Linked DNA regions of Homo sapiens: region 1 is linked to region 2. Evidence: promoter capture Hi-C in 16 types of primary human blood cells and fetal thymus (Javierre and others, 2016). All regions are on one chromosome and are shown on one strand. The core of a region is centred on a gene start or on the middle of the fragment in contact, and the rest is flanking DNA. Distances in the headings are between cores, read along the strand shown.

What was found. Contacts are between HindIII fragments. The CHiCAGO score rates a contact against its expected background, and 5 or more counts as called.
Region 1: a fragment that was not itself captured here is called in contact with the fragment with the promoter of LMBRD1 in region 2 in 1 of 17 cell types (total CD8 T cells); the score reaches 5.1 in total CD8 T cells.

What each region holds. Positions count from the first base shown.
Region 1 is chr6:71,290,871-71,297,335 of GRCh38, forward strand. It overlaps OGFRL1 (opioid growth factor receptor like 1), which reads left to right. Exons shown (of 7, transcript NM_024576.5): 2 at 2,423-2,509; 3 at 2,663-2,741; 4 at 5,447-5,525; 5 at 5,625-5,691; 6 at 5,802-5,947. The region is part of intron 3 of LOC124901339 (a long non-coding RNA gene); the gene reads right to left. Among named protein-coding and RNA genes, the nearest start is that of OGFRL1, 5.3 kb to the left of the region's middle. The HindIII fragment of the contact is 194 bases long and covers 1,360-1,553 here.
Region 2 is chr6:69,793,304-69,800,352 of GRCh38, forward strand. It overlaps LMBRD1 (LMBR1 domain containing 1), which reads right to left and starts at 3,707. Exons shown (of 16, transcript NM_018368.4): 1 at 3,510-3,707. The coding sequence starts at 3,578. RefSeq lists enhancers at 2,658-3,214, 3,039-3,088, 3,215-3,770, 3,399-3,628. The HindIII fragment of the contact is 19,066 bases long and covers 1-7,049 here.

The DNA.
Region 1 (6,465 bases), core at 207-2,706, 1.5 Mb after region 2:
TCTTGAGTTTGATATCCTATTACACATCCAAGTAGAGTTGTTGGGTAGTTAATCATTTGTTGGGTAGTTAAATTACATCTATGAATGGAGACAGTCCAGGACTAGAGTCCTCAGCATCTGAGATCAATGGTATTTAAAGGCATGGGAAGATAAGGGGTTATCAAGGAGTGATGACGACTGAGGACCTTAGGCACCCCTCCATTTAGAGGGTATGAAGAGGAGGAGGAGCCAAAAAAGGAGGCTGACAAGGGGAGCCCAATGAGACAGAAAGTAAACTAAGAAAGTTATAGTAGCCTGTAAGCCAAATACTGACAGTGTTTCAGGAAGGAGGGATGCTTTAATTGGCCCAGTTCTGTTGGGAGGTCACCTGAGGTGAACATTAAGAAATGGTTTGGCAAGATGGAGACTTATTGGTGAAGTTCACAAGAACTATTTTGTTGGAGTGCTGAGGACAAAAGCCTGATTGAGGTGGGTCAGGGGAAAATGGGGAAAGAAAAGAAGGAAACAAAGTATGGGCAATTCTTTGGTGGTGATTTGCTATAAAAAAGGAGTAGATATATGGATCTGTAATTGATGGTAGGCCTGGGTCAAGGAATGTTTTGTATGTTTATTTTAAGATTAAAGATACTACAGCATGTTTGTTTGAGATCGAGAAGAGAGGGAAATTTTGATGATCCAGGAAAGAGGAACAATATTGAACAACAGAATCCTTGTCTGAGCAGGTGAAAGGGGTCTGGGTAGAGAGTCCAAAGGGAATAGGGGTTGGAAGAGCAGGAGCAGATGCTGGCAGGACACAGACATTCTTATGATAATCCTGAGAAATAGGTAGGGCTTGAGTCATTATCTTTATTTCAGAGATGATAAAACTAAGATTCAGCTAAATGATTTGCTTAAGGCCTCACAAATACAAGTAAGCAGCGTTCAGATTGCTAGTCTTCTGACTCCAAGTCTTGGGCTACTGATACTACACCAAGGTTTCCATATATCCTTCATTTTTTAGTGTGACTGAGATTGATTCAGACCTGGACTTGGGACCCAGAGCCTGGGATTCTTGTTCTTGCACTGTCACTGGACTCTGGGTGGTGTGCAACTTCTCTAAGCCCCTGATATCTTGTTTCTAAGATGGAAACACTTATTAACTGTCAATCAGGTGTGTTTTAAGAATCAAATGAAATAATGCCTTTTGACTGTCAACCCTGTTTGTTGTCTATTCGCTATATATGTAAGTGCTTTGTAAATGGAGAGTGCCTTCTATACAAATGTAGGATGATGATTCATATGGTTGTATCTCAGGCTAAATAGATTCAGAAACTTGCTAGGCAGAGCTATTTTGAAACGTGTGGCAAGGACCAGAATTCAAGCTTTTCCTTGCTTATGTAACATGACAGCGTAACTAATGTTAAGCATCAGAAGATTTGATGTTGAAGTAACTCGGTACTTGTAGTAATAGTGAGAATCACACCACTTCAAAAATGTGTGAAAATTACTTAGAGGATGCCAATCTGTCAACACAGATGGAGGACAGGGGTTGAGGAGAAAAGAATTTGGGGCAAAGCTTTTAATGACTCTTAAAGGTCTAAAGTTTTTCTTTTTCATGATTGTCATCAGCACTTTCTCATACATTATAATAGTACATATAGGGAATGCAAATCGATTATTTTAACCCACATCTTATACTTTAAAAATCAGTTCATGGTGATAGGAATTTTACTTAAGAGTTTGAACAGTATGAGTAAACTACCATGTATAAGTTGTTTCAATTGGACACCATTCCATTTAAGAGCATTTTATTGCTTTGTGTGTATATATTTTAAATGTTTATATCACATTGTATTATCATTCAGTGAACAGATGATTATTCATGCCTTTGTGTACTTGTCATGGTATTATAAAGGATGGAGTTTAGAAAGCTAGTTTGTTTTAAAATCCTTTCTTTTCATAAATATTACTTGACTTCCAAGTACAGCTAAATGTTGCAAATTTAATGACAATTTTCTTTGTAGAATTGATTTAGTAACTTAACACATTCTTAGTATTATGTAAAATATTCTAAAATAAGTTTTATCATAGAATCACTTGCATAATCATCTGGTAAATAAATGTCTTGAATTCCTTTTTGAGTTCCATTTTTGATGGATATTGATCCATAACATTGGCCTCTTAGGTTTTTGGTTAATAATAAAGTGTTTTATTCAGTAATATATCTTAGGACAAATGTTATTGGTTCAAATAAGAAAAATAGGATGCTAAGAAATATTGCTAGTAAGCGTTATTAAAGGAATATTTATAATATTTTCATTAATCTGGACAGATTGACAATTTTCAGGCTTTCTTTATGGATCTTCCTTAAGTTTGTTCTGGAAATTTCTTTGTGAAATTATCTTGCGTCAACATGTAAACGGAGTTTCACCTTTTATTTCAGGGTGGTGATTCCACTGAAGCAACTGCCAAACCAAAGAGAAGTTTTTATGCTGCCAGGGATTTGTACAAGTACCGACACCAGTACCCAGTAAGAGTATAGAATGCTATGTTTTAAACTGTAAACTATTTTCCTTCTGTTTTTAAATTTTTATGGTGCCACTGAGAAAACATGCATGAAGGGTCCTTGTATCTTTACTGTATTTCTATGTGCTGGAGATTGATTTATTTTTTCCTTTAGCAGAACTTCAAAGATATCCGATATCAAAATGACTTGAGCAATCTTCGTTTTTATAAGAATAAAATTCCATTCAAGCCAGATGGTGAGTAACGTACTACTTGATAAATTGCACTTTAAATAATCACATACACTTGGTTATTCTTTATTTTGTGGTTTGTTTCATTGATTGGATTTACTTTGCTATGCAGTCTAATGTGTCCCCTTGGTAAATTCTGGAGGAAGAGCTATGGATTAATGGTATCTTTCTTATTTACATTGCTATTATCTGAAAGATAGTAGGGACAATTTTTGTGACAGGAAGAGAGAGGAGATGTATAGAACCATAGAATTTTAGGTTATTAAGGAACAGTAGAGAAGATCAAATTCAGCTTTCTCATCTCAAAGATTAGGTCACTAGGACTTAAAGCTTAGGTCACTCGATTGCAGGTTCTAGAGTCCACTGTTCTTTCCATTGTGCCATAGCTGAAAACTATTTAGCATGTGATTGAAAAGTGCTGTTTGTATTTAGAATTATCTTTCCTGTCAGTTTTCAGATTCAGTATCAGCAATCTACAGCAATCCCTGTTTGGAGTTCCAATATTCTGGGAAGGGAACTGCAGATACAGTAGATCTCCATCCAACTCTGCCAAATACACTTGTCTCCTTCCCAACTCTGCAATTGCCCTCCTAGGATATTTTCCAAACCCATAGTGAGAAGATGCAGCTGCTATGGTAATATGACCACAACATTGCATATTTCATTGAGGCATCATGCTGTGGTTCATGGTGGTCATCCTAATTTTATCCAGGTCACCCTAGGAAAGCTGGCTTCTCTCCCAAGAGCCCTTTTCTGTGTGAGGTGGTCAGACTGCCCTGGCTTCTGCTATTTGCTCTCAGTGGAAACTGAGCCAGTTCCACAGCAGTGTGAGTCACAGAAGGAAGGAGATAGACTGCAAGGCTTTCAAGTGGCAGGACCTTGCATTCTTTGGTGAACTAACTCGAGGCAAGAGGTCTAAAGCCTGGATTGAGTTTGGGAGGAGGGAGTCCCAGTACTGTGTACCAACAGACCTACCAGTTGGGAGTTAATATTTGAGAACATCGTTGACGTGGCCAGATCTACTTGTCTTTAACTTTCTGGTGTCCTGAAAGTCTGCTGTGATGTGGAATGAAACCTCTGGATAAAATTGCACAGTTATATTTACTAATGATAGAAATGTGCTGCTTTATTTACTAATGGAAAAATATTGGCCAAATTATTCATTTTGTTAGGACTTGGGGTAGAAAAATATTTTGAAGAAATGCAATGATAGATTGTTAATTTGAGTCTGATTTGAATTTCATACAATTTTCCTAAAGGAATGCCTTCACATATTAAAAATATTAAACATAAAGCTATGATAGTATTTAACTCTATTTTTTTCTACTAGGGAATTTATTTTGTAAATATTAATTTAAAAAGTAATTTCAAGCAATATATTGAATTTTTGGTAATCTTTACTACAAAGTTTATTTTGAAATCTTATGATTGGTGGGGGTCAGAAGTTTTAGCTAAGGTCAGATAAAATGTTTATCCTAGTTTATTATACAAATTATATCAACTCACTTTCCTCCCTAGTATACACACACACGCACACACGCACACACACACTACTTGCCAGTAAGCATAATCTTGCAATGGTATTTATTTATCAGGCAGGAGGAGTGGTAGTTGGAAAGGAAAACAAATGGAAAATTACAGAGGTAAATGGTTTCAACATGCCAATAAAGCCAACATTATGATTCAAAACAACTTTTTACCAAACCTTCCGAGAGTGGGCCTCTACTACAAACTGGTGATCTCTGGAGGAAACAAGAATGAGATGAGTTATGTTCGGAGAAATATTATATTGCTATTTTATTTTCTACAACATTGACTAAATGGCTAGTCAATTGTAAGGACCTTGACAGACTTAGGAACAGGAGGATTTTGTTTTTGTAAGTTCTTGTAGAGGAAAAGTGGACAGGGTGAAAAGGGCTTACTTCTTGGAACCAGAAAGACCTATGTTGCACTCAAGATTTACTTTTTTACTAGTGTGTAACTTTGAACAAATCTCCCAGTTTCTTCATTGTTAAAATGAGGATCATAACACTGGCAGCATTCTGTGAAGACTAAGCTGGAAAATGTGCGCTCTGTGTAATATGGGCACAGCATGTAGTAAGCACTTACAACTTTTTCCTACATTTTTCTTTTCTCGTTTTCCTTCTCCTTTGTTTTCTCCTTCTCATTTCTTTTCTTCTATTTCTACTCCCCTTTCTTTCTTTTTCCCTAGGATGCAATTCATTTTGATCCAATTTAGCATTTAAAGAACTATATAACTCCTAGGACTGGGATTGGCAAACTTTCTATACAGGGGCAAATAGTAAATATTTTGGGCTTTGGGGGACAGTGGGTCTGTATTGCAACTACACAGCTCTGCTACTGTAGTACAAAAACTGCCATAGACAGTACATAAATGAATGTGCATAGCTATATTCCAATAAAACTTTATTTAAAAAACAGCTGGCAGGCCACAGTTTGCCAAGCTCTGCTTTAGAGTACATTGTCCAACAAAGCCTTGTGCAATTTGAGGTGCTATTAATTTTTTTTAATTAGATTTATCACATAACCGAATATATGGGCATAGGGTATTCATCTTTTTAAAAGCACTATTCTTGTGTGCTATTATTAAATTTAAACAAGTTTTCATATAAAACTCAAGTGATTCGAATCTTAAAATGCCTTCACAATGTTTGAAATGTCTGGTTCATTTTTAAATATTTACTATTTAGGTGTTTACATTGAAGAAGTTCTAAGTAAATGGAAAGGAGATTATGAAAAACTGGAGCACAACCACACTTACATTCAATGGTCAGTTACATATTATCTATCTTGAACCATGTCCTATTTAATCATGTATGTTTTCCAGACAACGTTAATAGAAAAATTTTATTTTTTTAAAATAAATAGGCTTTTCCCCCTGAGAGAACAAGGCTTGAACTTCTATGCCAAAGAACTAACTACATATGAAATTGAGGTAATGCAAGCTCATTTCATTTTATACAGGGTGGCCAAATAATATTGCTATTTCACTGTCCTTGTAGCTACTGAATCATTTCAGGTGACTTTTTTCATTTTTTATATTAGGAATTCAAAAAAACAAAAGAAGCAATTAGAAGATTCCTCCTGGCTTATAAAATGATGCTAGAATTTTTTGGAATAAAACTGACTGATAAAACTGGAAATGTTGCTCGGGCTGTTAACTGGCAGGAAAGATTTCAGCATCTGAATGAGTAAGTAAAGCCCCTGTGATAAATCAGGGGCCAGCACAGTTATTTTCCCTTGGTCAGAGTTCTCTATGAAACGCAGGAACAACTAGCAGATGAGATGGGCCCAGGAATTTGGATTAAAAAGCTAGTCTGAAATGCATTACATTCCTGTACCACATTCTAAAACAAAACAAAACAACAACAAAAAGGAACAAAATTCTAGGTAGAAACACAGCTATTCAGCTTCAGACCTGTTTCTCCCTGAAACCTTCCTATTGCCCACAGCCAAATGTTGCTTCTCTCCCTCCTCCTTATGCCACATTTCTTTGAGTTTATTGTTATTGCTTGTGTACAATTCTGTGTATTCCTTCTTGTAGGCTGTAAGCTTCTTGGGGCACAATCTGTTTCTAAGCATAATGCCTTCTTAAGATTAAATTCATGCATTAAGCCTATGATGTATAAAAATCATTTTATAAGAATGAGATGGGCCCATAGTTTTTACTAAAAGAGAGAGAAAATTACACTTGTCTTCACTATTAAGG
Region 2 (7,049 bases), core at 2,457-4,956:
GGCAGAAGAAGGAATGAGAAGAGATGAATCTTCATTAAACTAATGAGAATAGATGACATACTGTATGGGATCTTGTTAAACTGCAGATCTGATTCAGTAGGACTGGGGTCACATATTTGGTATTTCTAACAAGTTCCCAGATGATGCCCACACTTTAAGGAACAAGAATAAATTTGCTTTACAAAAATGGAGAGTCTCCTATTGTAATGGCAAATACAATTTAAAGGTGGTGTGAGCCAAATTACAGAGGACATTGAAGCTAGATAGAACAGTTTAGATTTGATATAGTAAAGACAGACATAGTTAGATTACAGGCATGAGATACCAAATCTAACAATTCCTTATGTGTGAAGAAACTGAAGTCCATTCTTTTTGCCCACGATCACAAAAGTAGGCAACATTCATGTCCTGAATCTTTTTTTTTTTTTTTTTTTTTTTGAGACGAAGTTTCCCTCTGTTGCCCAGGCACTATCAGAGCTTGCTGCAACTGCCTCCACAAACCACCTCCTGGGCTCAAGCAATCCTCCCACCTCAGCCTTCTGAGTAGCTGGAACCTCAGGCATTTGCCACCTCGCCCGGCTAATTTTTTGTATTTTTAGTAGGAATGGGGCTTTGCCATGCTGCCCAGGCTGGTCTCAACTCCTGAGCTCAACTGATCCACCTGCCTCAGCCTCCCAAAGTGCTGGGATTACAGGTGTGAGCCACCACACCTGGCCCATGTCCTGAATATTTAGTAGATGATTGGCAGAAGTTCTCCAAGTGTGAAATCCCTAGGCCCTGGTAGTCCCCAGAATCCTTTCTGGAGATTCAGAAGTTGAAAACTATTCTCATAATAAATACTAAGATGCTATTTGCCTTTTTCACTGTGCTGACATTTGCACTCATGGTTCATAGCCACAGTGGGTAAAACTACTGGTGCATTAGCGTGAATCAAGACAGTGGCACCAAACTGCACCAGTAATCATTGTATTCTTCACCACAAGTTCAAAAAGGGACAATTTAAATTAAGACTGTGCTTCACAAAGCAGCATAAATTCATTTTATTGAAATTCAACCCTTGACTCTTTTTAATACTTTGTGGGGTAAAATATGAAGCATGCGTACATAAAGTCCTGCTGCATACCAAGATGTGATGGCTATCTCCAGGAAAAGTTTAGAGTTAAAAGCTAAACCAACCACTCTTCAAGGAACACCATTTTTACTTGAAAGAACAATTGTCAAACTGGTTATTCAGACTTCGCTTTTTGGCAGATTTTGTCAAATGAACAAAGGGAATCTATCACTTAAAGAAAAACTGACAGTATTTGATACCAATGATAATTATGAGTCAAACTTTCAAATGAAAATTGGATTTTGAAAGACTTACATCCACAAGTATGAGCTTGACAACTCTTCAATACTTAGAATTTTCAGAGACATTTCTGACAAGATCAGTTGTAATTTAATGAAATGTGATATTTTGATATTGTGTAATGAAACGTATCCATATTTAAAAGATGTGCATAACTCAGTAAACCAACATTTTCTAAGTGGCCATGGCATCATGTTATAAAACCATGCATGGGTAAAAGAGCCTTTCAAAGTGCAAGATGGGCTAATGGATTTTAATGTAACAATGAATGAAATGCTCATTGATAGGGTTTCAGATTCCACCTTGCAGCTGACATGAATCTTCCACTTGTTGAGCTTTGGTGTAGTGTCAAAAAACATCCACAATTATCTGAAAAACGCTCCTCTGTTTCTGACTACCTATCATTGCAGCTGTATTTTCTCCATACACTTCGACTAAAATAACATACCCCAAAAGACTGAATGTAGAAGGCAACAAAAGAAACCAGCCTTTCTTCTAATAAACCAGGATTTAAAGAGATTTGCAGAAATTTAAACAAAAGTCCTTCTTCCTAATGCTTTTATCCACGACAACATTCAATTCTGATTTTATTTGTCCTTGCTGTAATATTGCCAACTTAAATGGCCTCTCTTCTTCATCTATCCAAACTCTACCACAATTCTCATTTTCTTCCAATATTGTTGTCTATTCTCTTAAGTCCTGCTTTATTTATAGTCACACTTTGGCTTTCGGTCCATAAAATACATGTTTCAAGAATTTCAGTTTTCTCACTTATCTTCAGGCCCTCTTTAAAGCCGTATTTTGTTTGGTTTACATCCTCTTACAATTCACACCACTTCTGTACCGTAAATGTTTATTAATTTATAACTGCCAAGATAGTCTCACGTAACTTTCATACATTACATGCTTATTTATTTTTTTCTAAACAAACTAAATCTGATGGACTGGAAAAGCCAGGGGGCTCTCCAAATACAGGACTGGGTGGCTGCAGAGACCACAGTCAACCTTTAGGGTTTCATTTCCTCCAAGAGAGGACTAACATGTTCCAGGGTAAAGGCAGTGTTTTTATCTGTGACAGTGATGGCAGTAACAAGAGGATCCTTTTCTTAAATTTTCACACCATTCTTTTCTTTTATTTTCTTTTTTTAGTCTCTACTGCAAAAATCTACTAGAACATACTACATAGGTACCAGACACCAACTGGATCTGACAATTAAAGTAAAACCAAACAAGCCTGATTTCCAGAACTGGAGGTTTTTGTTTTGCAATGCAAAAAGGTCAAAATACGTGAGAACAGAAAGTAACTACAGCCTCGGACGATGAGAAAAGAGAAGATTTGAGAAGGTAGAGAAGTTATGAAAGGAAATAAATTGAACTCCCAAATAAACCAAAGGGTTTTAATATGAACAGGGAAGTAATAGCCAGGCCACTCTGAGACATTTCTATCTACACTTTGCTCACTGAATATGCAGAAATAAGATCGTTGGAAAAGAAAGCACCTGAGGTCAGACAGGTAGTAGTATATACTCCGATACTGGTAATAAAGAGGGCTACAGCTCCGCCCTCCACAGGTATCTACACCAATCAAAAAAAGATTAGAAGAGAATGTGACACCTGGAAGTCAGAACGAGCAACTCACGTCATCAAGGCAGAATCACACAATGGGCACAGAGGTTGGAGACTCACTAGCCCCAAGGGTAGGGAAAATGAGGGAAAAAACATACAGAGAAGGTGACAAGTAAACAACGCCAGCGCCTACTTAACTTGCAAAGATCCAGCGCTGCCGCCCCACACCGTGTGACAATGTTTTACAGGGGACGAAAGGCCACCACATACTTCTCAACCCCGAGGGTCTCTTCCGCCCCCAAACCCCACCGGCCCCATTGCCCAAGTCAGCGATGACGGCAAGAGCTTCCAAAAAGGACCCTGCAACCCTAGACGTCATCGGTGAAATGACAGCAAAAGAGACCGGAAATCGACACCCCCCTGCCCCCGCCGCCCGCCCAAGCCCCCAACACTAAGGAGCCCTCCACAGTCCAAGCTAAAAGCGGGGCGGGGCGAAGAGGGTCTCCGGGGCCCGGAGAGGCCAACTGCAGGGCCTGCCCCTCCCTTCCTCCCCCAGTCCAAACATGGGGAAAACTCCAAGCGCCTCCCCTACCAGTAGTAAGAGGCCGAATATGCACCAGCCGATCACCAGCTCCGCCGAGGCCGCGCCAGAAGTCGCCATCTTCGCTTCCGGTCCAGACCAACCTGAGCGCCCGGGGTGGGGAAAGGGGAGGGGGAAAGGGGAGAGAGCGCGAGATATACTGCACCCGCGCACCCTAAAGGTTAAAGGGGCGGAGGGGGAGGAGCAAGTGGTTGCCAAGGAGACTGGACCCACTAGCGTCCCCTGGCGGCGAGCCGAGCGGGGGCGGGGCAGCAAGGACTGCTCAGGGGCGGGGCGCGTGCGGACGCAGTGACATCACCACGCTGCCCTCGCTGGCTTCCCTGCAAGCTGAGATGTGGGAGGGCTGCAGAGCAGGGTGTTGGCTCATAGCTGGGCAACCTATTGAGATATTTGACTCAGCCTAAGTTGATAGACTAGAACAGCAAGGGAACTCCACAAAGAATGGGCTAGGTGGACCTGGAGATCCAAGTCAATTTTAGAGGTTTATACTTCTTCACCAAAAGGAAGTTTGGCCCTCGTGTACAAGGTGGAATGTGTGTGATTAGCAGAACTCCTTACCAGGTTGCAAGAATGGCTGATGTCAGGCCTCTGAGCCCAAGCTAAGCCATCATATCCCCAGTGACCTTCACGTATACATCCAGCTGGCCTGAAGCAACTGAAGATCCACAGAAGTGAAAATAGCTTAGCTGATGACATTCCACCATTGTGATTTGTTTCTGCCCCACCCTAACTGATCAATGTTCTTTATAATCTCCCCCACCCTTAAGAAGTTTCTTTGTAATTCTCCCCACCCTTGAGAATGTACTTTGTGAGATCTACCCCCTACCCCCAAAACATTGCTCTTCACTCCACCTCCTATCCGAAAAACTGTAAGAACCAATGATAATCCCACCACCCTTTGCCGACTCTCTTTTCGGACTCAGCCCGCCTGCACCCATGTGAAATAAACAGCCATGTTGCTCACACAAAGCCTGTTTGGTGGTCTCTTCACACGGACGCATGAGACAGCTGACTCTGAATAAAAGTTGACTAGCTGCCCAAATCACTCTAATTTACTGGCACTGGTGCCCAGCCGGGATAACTGGTTGGCTGGACATGAACTTATCACATGATGTTATAGCCTTTCTATTCAGATGTATGCATGCCTGTGAATTTCCATGATAGCTTTGTATGTAAAGGTATATGCATCAGCAAACAAAACACACTGCCATAGGCCCACAATGAAGAAGAAGGAGGAAACTCTTGGGATGGCTTACCTGAGTCCACAGGGAGGAAACTCTTGGGATGGCTTACCTGAGTCCACAGGGGTGTGAGTGCATGTTTCACCACTGTGATGTAGTCAAGAAACAACTCTGAGAAAAAATACCATCATCTTTTTCCAATGTATTATGTGGTGATGAGTTATGCTCTACCTATAATCTACTTCCGGCTGGAAGCCTGAGGGAAAAAATAGGATGGTCCTTCCTGCCTGGACAGAATAAGAAGGGAATAGGGGAGAATACAGTTTTAACTTGAACTGGTACCATCATAAGCTGGCTTTAAGCCCTCTAGACCTGCAAATGTTTGAATTTCACTCTTTCTTCCTAATAATTCATATCCCTGGAGACCTCTGTCATAGCTTCCTTAAAGTGAAGAGAGGTATCGCTTCCAGGTTGATATCTCTATTCCAGATTGTATAGAGCACCCTTGACATAAGTAACTACTTCTTAGAAAAAGATTCTGTTTACATTTCAAAAGGAATCATGCCAAAAGGGACCAGATGTTCACCTAATCAATAGAGACTGCACCCAACCAGATAACGACATAACCAGGCACACTCTTTTATTATTATTATTATTATTATTATTATTATTATTATACTTTAAGTTCTAGGGTACATGTGCACAACGTGCAGATTTGTTACATATGCATACATGTGCCATGTTGAGGTGCTGCACCCATTAACTAGTCTTACATCAGGTATATCTCCTAATGCTATCCCTCCCCACTTTCCCCCACCCTACAACAGGGCCCAGTGTGTGATGTTCCCCTTCCTGTGTCCAAGTGTTCTCATTGTTCAATTCCCACCTATGAGTGAGAACATGTGGTGTTTGGTTTTCTGTCCTTGCAATAGTTTGCTGAGAATGATGTTTTCCAGCTTCATCCATGTCCCTACAAAGAACATGAACTCATCCTTTTTTATGGCTGCATAGTATTCCATGGTGTATATGTGCCACATTTTCTTAATCCAGTCTATCACTGATGGACATTTCAGTTGGTTCCAAGTATTTGCTATTGCAGGCACACTCTTTACTATCAGTCAACACCAGAGGACTCTGAGGCTATAAAAAGAGTAGAACTTCAACAGCTCAAGATAGCCATCTTAACAGACACTGTCTTACTGTCACTCATGATCAGCATCTAGCATCTGCCACCAAAGGTTCTGCTCAAATCAAAGACTCTTCCTTGCAAAATGTTGATATGCATCCTGATCAGCCGAGGACACTCTCCTTGTCCATGTTGCTCTCCTTGGATTGGTTAATCCTGTTTTCCTAACCTTTCTCTTGATGTTAAATGTTATTTTCTTTTAGAATGTTTAGCCTATAATATTTATATGTTATGTATACTACTATGTTTGGTTTGCAATATTGACTGACTTGTGGAGTGGCTAGAGCTTTGTGTCCTTGGTTCTGACTACCAAATGAATGGGTACTACTAAGGAAAATTACCTCCTTCGGACCTTCATACAGCTCATGGCTTTTATGATTGAAATAGCATCAACAAAAGTCTGACTGTGGAAAGACACAAACTTGCAGGGACTTGAGCCACTGACAGGTAGTCACTTATATCTCCTCCACAAGCCCCAGAGCATACTGAGGTATACTTAATTATTCCTTTTCCTGCTGAGGTCTTGTAATCTTCTTCTAGAAGCTCATTTAAGTTGGAGGAGAGGCCTAAGACAACCCCAAGCCAGTTCTTCCCCTTTCCCCAAATAGTCTAAATCCCCTCTGTAGGAATGATGATACATACCTTGCACCAACAACTTTGGGAGCACAGGCCAATCCCAATGTAGCTCCATTCTCCTAGTTCTACAATCAAAGGAATCAGCCCTTTTTGATTATACCCAAGAAAGTCAGCCCCTGATGCTACAGTCCACTGTAGTTCTCTCTACTGGGTCAGACACTAGCCCTCTGTGTCCTCAATTTCAGGGGCCATATTTCAAATTCTCCAAGTAGCTCCCTTGAGGCCTCCCTTACTAGGCTAAGGGTTAGAAGGTAACACCCCACTCCAACCCACCCACCCCTCCACCTCACCCACAAATACACCACTCTTTGGAGTTAAGGATGGAATTCCACAGGTCAGCAACAGTTCTCATTAAATAAATCTGTTTATGAATCTTCTCCTCTTGCTAATACATTTGTAGAAATTTTATTTGTCTGAGGGGTCTAAGAGTTATATAATAAATTCTTGAATCCCTTTTTAATTATGCATATAAGGGAGAATTCATAGTTAGAATGCAGACAAGTAAAAATAAAAATCTGACCCTCCTCC